2 separate regions of the Homo sapiens genome follow, and region 1 is linked to region 2. Evidence: promoter capture Hi-C in human tissues and cell types (Jung and others, 2019). All regions are on one chromosome and are shown on one strand. Each heading gives the region's core, a stretch centred on a gene start or on the middle of the fragment in contact. The rest is flanking DNA. Distances are from core to core; before and after follow the strand shown.

The links. Contacts are between HindIII fragments. The study calls those that stand out against the background at their distance.
Region 1: a contact is called between a fragment that was not itself captured here and the fragment with the promoter of EPHB6 in region 2, in 1 of the 25 tissues and cell types used here (spleen).

Annotation. Positions count from the first base shown.
Region 1 is chr7:143,454,857-143,458,568 of GRCh38, forward strand. The region is part of intron 2 of EPHA1-AS1 (EPHA1 antisense RNA 1); the gene reads left to right. Among named protein-coding and RNA genes, the nearest start is that of TAS2R60, 13 kb to the left of the region's middle. The HindIII fragment of the contact is 5,522 bases long and covers 1-3,712 here.
Region 2 is chr7:142,852,437-142,856,675 of GRCh38, forward strand. EPHB6 (EPH receptor B6) reads left to right here and starts at 2,640. Exons shown (of 20, transcript NM_004445.6): 1 at 2,640-2,949. The HindIII fragment of the contact is 9,136 bases long and covers 1-4,239 here.

The DNA of each region.
Region 1 (3,712 bases), core at 290-2,789, 600 kb after region 2:
ATTATTTTATTATAATTAACTAGACTACTATTATTATGCAACAGGTCATCATTTCTATGCTTGTAGAAATGGGCGTGGCTGCTAGAAGCTGGATCATCAATTGATATTCTCTTACACATTCAGAAACTGGTGATTTTGCTGGTTCACTGATACAACACTGAGCCTCCACATTTTTCACAGTTGTTGTTAGAGACGAGTAATTGCTTCCATGTTCATATACATCTTAACAAGCATTTATTGATCACTTTGATATGGAGGTCTAGGTGTACATCCCTGCTAAGTGCAATGGGGTTATAAAAGTAGGATCTTAACATTCAAGAAATTTACCATGCAACATATATACACCAGTTAAAGGAGTACGAAGCAGTGAAGAGCTGAAGTGACCACTAATGAAGTATAATATAATAGTTCATATTTGACCCTAGTACTGAGAGAATTATAAAATGGAAACTAATCGGATACAGTCCATTATTTAGTATTACTTATTTGTAATATTTTGCTGCAAATTTTGTACTTTTCAAATACTTGATATTGGGGTTTCTGTTTATCTTTGATAGTAATCTATTAGGTTCGACATTTCTTAAAGTCATGCATGGCCTCCTTTTCTGAACTCTTGTATACTTAGGCCCATATCGCTGGCCACTCTATTGTGATTCACTCAAGTGAATGGGGGTAATCTTGAGATTAAAAAAGTCACAAGAACAAGACCTCAGATAGGAGGAGGGTTGTGAGGGAAACTGGATCTTTGAAGTGAAATCAGAATTGTGAGGCAGAGAGGGAGCTTCTGCTCATGGGGTTGGCCTCTGTCACAGGCTTGTAATGATTCTGAGTTTCAATGGTGTGGATGGCTGGCCTTGGTGACAGATAAAAGCTTTCGAAACTGGGCTTCAGCAGTAGGCAGCTGAATGCATTTGGAACTTTAGTTAGCTGAGCTGACTGATGCATCTTTTAACTATAAATAATACTTGTTCTGGACTATAGTGATGGAAATCGAAGGCTAGTTGGGGGTAGGGGACTGTGTGTGGGGACAGTTCTTTTTGAAAACTTTTATTTTTCTTTCAGTAAGCCAAACAATTTTTAAAAAGAGGTTGAATAAACTATTTAAAATACACTATTTACATGATACTTTCATTATCTATTTTGCTCAAGGTGATTTTTTTAAAATATGAAACTGCTCCTATGTACTCAGATTGTTATACCTTTTACATCAAAACTAAATTGCAATAGTTTGTTTGTTTGGTTTTGAGATAAGTTCTCACTCTGTTCCCCAGGCTGAGCATAGTGGTGCAATCGTGGCTTACTGCAGCTTCAAACTCCTGGGCTCAAAGGATCCTCCCACCTCAGCCTCCTTGAATAGCTGAGACTATAAGCGCATACCACCATGCCCTACTAATTATTTTTCATTTTTTGTAGAGATGTAGTTTTGCCCTGTTGCGCAGGCTGTCTCAAACTCCTGGTCTGAAGTGATGCGCCTGCCTCAATCTCTCAAAGTACTGAGATTATAGGCATGAACCACCGTGCCCAACCAAGTGCAATGTTTTTGAGGACAAGATAGATTTCTGCCTCCAGTGGCAGTATAATTTTCATAAAATAAGGGATTAGGACTTTACTTTTAAAAGTTGGTGGCTTCCAAATCTGCTGACAAACTCCTTGAGGGGCTATGATTTGGGTCCACACCAAAAGCAGCATCTGTTTAATTCTGTAGGGATCAAGTACAAGAAGACTGTTGTCTTTATTGTTGGAAAGTTTCAAATGGAGAAGAAAAGTAGCTGATCCAAATTGGTCCACATTGGACCAGCTACTTTAGAGTTGGGAAGCATTTAAATTTTAACTCCTCTGTACTATAATTGAGGAATCTGTAAGAAAGTTGGGGGAAAAGCTGTATTTCTCAAGTTAAAGCCAATGGCTTATATTTATCCGAGTCAATAACATTACATTTTCCATTATCTGTGTTTGGGAATTTTTATTACAGGTATTCTTATGGTGAAGTTTTACTGATCCATTATTTTTTAATTTTAGTTTTGAAAAATGTCACCACCAACCTGTGGTGATGGGACCAGATATATTCAGGGGTTCCAACAAGTAAGAGTGAAAATGTCTTTGTATGTACAACATACTCTGCAGACATTCCAGTAGCCCACGGCTTTAGGTGAGGAGGATCATGAAGATGAAAATGTATACATGTTTCTTCTCAACATTTCCAAGCTAAATGCAAGCTTTACTGCTTCTATCATAGCATCTATTTAAAGTTTTGCCAACTCAGTCTCCTTGAATAACCAAATATTGAAAGCATCTGTACCAAAATATGTAGTGACACATCAAGATTATTTTAAAAAGGAAAAGCAACTAACCTCATTCATTCAACAAATATTTCCTTTGTGCCACTATGTGGGGGATGCAGGGGTTGAAGAAGATCCTTGTCCATTGAGAGAACAACGTGTGTCTCCCTATAAAACAAAGAGAAGTGTCTGAAATTAAAGCATGTATTTAAGTGATTAAGACCTTATACTGTGTTCAGCAAACATTCTTTGAGCAAATCCTTTTGAGAATCAGAAGATGAATGATCATGAACACTTTGTGAGGAAGAATCAATGAGTCACAGGTGCTGATGAATGAAAGAATCATAAACTTTAGAAATTCTTAAACATTTTTACTAGAGCAGTGAAAGAGAGAAATATTGCATAGTCTTGGCTATAAAGAATGTATAGTCCTTCAGATACAATGAGCAGCTCAGTAGTTGCTTGTGGAACATTTTACAACTACAGAATGACCCAGAGGCAGAGCCACGTGCCTTGCTGCAGTTGCAGGTACATGCACTCAACAGCATGTCCATGAACCCTGTTCTCTTCTGGAGGGTCTACGTGGCAGAAGCTCTGGCTCTTTCACATCAAGAAGGATCTTAAATTCTGGAGCAATGGCTCATACCTATAATCCCAGCACTTTGAGAGGCTGATGCAGGCAGATCGCTTGAGTCCAGGAGTTCCAGGCTAGTCTGGGCAACATAGCAAAATCCCATCTCTACAAAAAGTACAATTAGCCAGGTGTGGTCGCATGCGCCTGTGGTCCCAGCTACTCAGGAGGCTGAGAAGGGAGGATTGCTTGAGCCCGGGGAGGTCAAGGCTGCAGTGAGCTGTGATCACACCACTGCACTCCAGTCTGGGTGACAGAGTGCAGTCCCTGTCCTAAAATCAACAGCATTCTCATTCGAGTAAAAAATAATTAAACCTTGAGATATTTTCCTCTGCTTTCCTATGCTCTCCATTCACATTTCTTTGCTGAGTTTAAACCTTGGATTCTAAATTCTGCTTAAGTTCTACTGTCTTATAGATAATCGGAAAAGTTAAGTGGTTTCCCAAGGAGGACTCTGCTCCTGGCCTGTTTGCTCCAGCTTGGTCTAGCCCTATGATTGTTGTCTTTGACTCCCTCCTTGACTTGCAGTATTGATCTACATTGGTCTGTGCTTGTTTCTGACATCATCATACTTTATGAACTAGCATGGTTTCGATTCCAGTTTCCCTGGACCAGCCCAGTCCTGCAGCAACCGGTAGTAACCCAGCTCTGAGAAGTAAAATTGCAAAAGCCTCAAAGAAACTTCCTTTCTTTTGCCGTGACTTGAAATTTGTAAATGGCTTTCCTGAACTTAGAGAATCCTGAGTCAGAACCCAGAAATTTGGAATAAGTTAGTCAAGTGCCCTAATCACAGCCAGATGCC
Region 2 (4,239 bases), core at 1,390-3,889:
CTCAGCAGTTCCTTTTGGTTCCAAATTTACATAATAGATTGTTGTGTGCCAGAAATGATTAATTCTGTGAGCCATAAACTTTATTAGGTCCTGCCCATTAGCAATACTCCAGGGTTTTTTTTTTGAACAAGTCAAAAAAAAAAAATATATATATATACACACATATATATATAGAAAGAAACAGGGTCTCACTCTGTCGCCCAGGCTGGAGTGCAGTAGGACAATCTTGGCTCACTGCAACCTCCGCCTCCCGGGTTCAAGCGATTCTCCCACCTTGGCCTCCTGAGTGTCTGGGACTATAGGCATGCATCACCATGCCTGGCTAATTTTTGTATTGTTTGGTAGAGATGAGGTTTCACCATGTTGGCCAGGCTGATCTCAAACTCCTGACCTCAAGTGATCCTCTCACCTCAGCCTCCCAAAGTGCTGGGATTACAGGCATAAGCCACTGTGCCCATCCACATAGAAAAAGTTTAAATATTATTTTTTATTGATTCATTCTATAACACTTCTAAGCACCTGGAGTGTCCCAGGCACCAAACAAATTATAGCAAAAAATTTACATTAAACTTTAAAAAGGAATTCATTACTTTGCTTTTTAATAGCTGCAGGTTGCAGCATACTTTAACAATGCATTCTATGCTCTCCACCTACCATTAAAACTTGGTTTGATAAGACATAGGCAATTAGGATGCAAAGCCGACTAATCACAAATTTAAACCTCTTTGCATCCTGAGTATGACACTTCCTTTGAAAACTAGATGCCTCTCAAATTTTATTAACAAGACAAATATAACTAATTACACAAGCCTTGAGCAGCAAAAACTTCATTTCATATTATAGTCACCTAATATGAGGTATATCATGAAATAGAAAAGAAGGCAGATATTTTTACTGTTATGTCAATACAGGATACGTTGCAAATTACTACAGGAATTTCTGGGTTTTATAAAGTAACAACTACGGTTTGGTTTTGTCCATATTTTTATTTTAACATAATCTAGTTATGTGTCTTTTTTTTAAGTTTTCAATATAACCATAGATGTCTAGCAATCAGGCATGTTAATGTATGAGTTACGTAATTCCACACACAATGCAAATTCTGTTTCTTTGCAGAAGTCTTTGAAAGCCTTGGAGATAACCAGAAAATGAAGGAAGCCCTCCACCACTGAGTTTCAGGGCAAAGGGAAGAAACAAGATAAAGTAGAACCGTCAGTACAAGTGGAATTATTAATGACGTCCAAATGCAGTCATTAAATACTATCAGACTTATTTATTGACTCCTGATATTAAGAGTGAACAAACCCCTGGCCAAGTGGGAACTTGCTCGGTAGCCTTTATCTTTCTATCACTCATTCAGTCAATTCATTAAAGCCTGTTTGTCTCTCCCAGGTGACTCTTACTGAGTTTCATTGTTTTGTTTATTGTGTTTGTTGGCTCATAGATCTCTTTCACAATTTTCTTCGGCTTCTGAATGCTCTTTAAGTACCAGTTTTGATCAGCCCATTTGCTTTAATAAACAGGAGAGCAAGATGGGACAGGGCGATACAGGGAGAAAAGGGGGCAAAGGGAATCGCACCGGGTGCTTGTGCTCCCTAGAAAAACCAGCAGGTGGTAGCAACACTTCGTGGCAAGGCCCCAGCCCAGCTCTGTAGGACCCAAACAATAGACCCCAAATCCCCGTCCTCGGCTAGAGAAGGGGTTAGAGGTGGGCGGAAACACTTTTCCTCGCGGCGCCCCCTCGGTTCCTCAACCCTGCCTCCAGGCGCCAGCTGAGAGCACCTTGCACCGCCCCTCCTCACTGCAGGGAGGTTCTCTCCGGAGCGCGGGCGAGGGAGGAGGCACCCAGAGGTGCAGCGACTTGCCCAAGCCATGTCAGAGCCAGGCGTACAGCAGCGCTTCCCCTTTTCAACCCGACTGCCCTGCCCCTTGGGGAGGGTAGATGGAGGGAGGTTCGACTCAGAAGCCCCAACGTTGACCAAGATCCAGACACGAAAAGAGAAAAGAGTTCCCGGCTAGCACGGCGACGCTTTCATACCGAGACGCCCCCCTCTCCCGCTGCCTCGGCTCCCCCTACCACCGCCCGTACTCTCCCAGATTTCTCAGTTTGTCTTTCCCTCCACCCCCTGCTTTTCCTTCCTTCTCTCTTGCTCAGCTCACGCCCACCTTAGTTCCAAGCTGAGTAGGAGCCCCACTGTTTTAGTTCCTAGAGTTAAAGCCGAAGAGGAGGGAGGCGCGAGGGGGTGTGTGCAGGGCTCTGCCCTGCCCTGAACTGCCACGGTCCGCCAGTTGCGCTTCGCTCCGCGGGTGTCCGACCCAAGCCGAGCCCGAGCCCGAGCCCAGGCAGGGGCTTTACAGACAGCCTCTTCCCTTCCCACTTCCTGCAGGCGCCCCACGCGTGCGATCCTCCCGGCCAAGACCCGCGGGAGGAGGCCGCCCCCTTCCCGGCGCACAGGCGGGGCCCCGGGCGCGCCCCGCGTCTCCCCCGCGCGCCGGGGCGGAGGAGCGGGCGCCGCGCACTCACCGCCTAGGCCGGGAGGGCGGGCTCGGCTCCCCGGAAGAAGGGAGTGGGAAGGCGGCCAAAGGGGCTGAAGGGGCGGGCCGGGCCGGCTTGGGAGGGGACGCGGAGGGGGCGGGCCGGGCTGCGTTCGCTCCAGCCGCGGCTCTACAGCAGCGGGCGGCGGGACCCGGGACCCAGCTTGGCGACGGCGATCTCGACGCGGGCCCCCAGGATCTCCCGGCGCCCCACCTCTGGAGCAGCCCCTGCCGCCAGCGTCAGGTCCACCCCGGAATCCCAGGGACTCTCGGCGCCGAACGGACCCGGGCCGGGTGCAACGGGGTCCCCGGACTGGAGAAGACGCGGGTGGCACCGTGCGAGCTCCAGGAGCCCCGGGTCCACTGCGAGGCCTCGGGGGGCGCAGACCTGCAGAGACTGCGGCCAACGGGAAGGTGAGCCCGCGGGGTTAGCAGGCGGCGTTGTGGGGGTCGGGGACAGTATGCTTGGGGACAGAGGAATTAAGGTTTGCAAGAGTAGTGGGGCTCCTCAGCCCCTAGGTGGCTTCCTGAGGGAGTACTGAGGATCCTTCCTCAAGGCCAGAGTGGGGTTCATGAAGGGTGAGGAAACGGTCAACCTGGCTACTCCCCTCTCACTCCACTCTGACCTGGCATCATTGACACCGCATTACCCTTGCTGTTAGGATCCCCCAGTTGCGTTCCCAGACATTCTCCTCTGGCTCTGGCTTGGGAGTCCTAATCTGGGAGGGTCCTCGCAGAGACGGAGCTCCACGCTTGGAACAGGATTGCCACCCCTCTGACTCCAGTGGCATCACTCCAATCCCCTTGGAGCTGGGAGGAGTCAGGAGGCTGACCACACACCTGTCCCCTGCTCCCCACAAGGCACTGTCCCCCCCAGCTCCATGACCACAGTTAAGCCTTGGAGGTGGAAGGAACGCTTGGTTCCTGCTGCCCAGCCATCACCCCCAACGTGCAACCAAATTCTATTGCGTGCTCCTGCCCCAGCTCCACCCTCGCTCTGCTCCCTCCATCTGGGTGCTTGGCCCTGCTTGCCCCACACCCCCACCCACCGATCTTGGCCGTCTGGCACCCTCTCTCCTCCCATCCCTGGGGGAGCTGGCATGGACCCAGCATAGCAATGTTGTAATGTCCCTGGCAGCGCCCATGGAGCGGAGCTGCTGGGTCTGTTCCCAGTTAACCCAGGCCCTCCGCCCGCCAGGGGAACTTGACTGAGGCTCTAGGAGGGGAGATGCTGGTCCTGAGCTGAGAGACCAGTGGGAGGGAGCTGTGTGGGGCTGTTAGTAGACCACAGAAGCTGCCCAAGTAAGGGGCATTGGAGCATTGAGGCTTCTGAGTGCTGCTCAGTGGGGCCACTTGGCTTTTCAGAGCAGTGGGCCTTTTTTCTCAAAGGAAGATTAGCGTGGGGGTGTCTATGTACTTACCTGGTGGCCTCAGAAGGAGGACTTGTTTGGAGTCTATTACTCCATTCAGGGTGCAAAAAGATGGTTGGCAATGACACTGAGTTACCAGAATGCTGGGGAGCAACAGGCTGGGGTGGGCTGAGCATGGGAAAGGCAGGATCCTCCTTCTGGGACGGCTGTTCTGCTATCACTCTGTCCTGAGCCTGGGCCCTAGACCCTGAGTTCCCACTCTAGGTAGAAGGAGGATGGCAGGTTCTGGAGGGTTTGGGAAGCCTCAGGTTTCCCTTTCTTTACCCACTCCTCC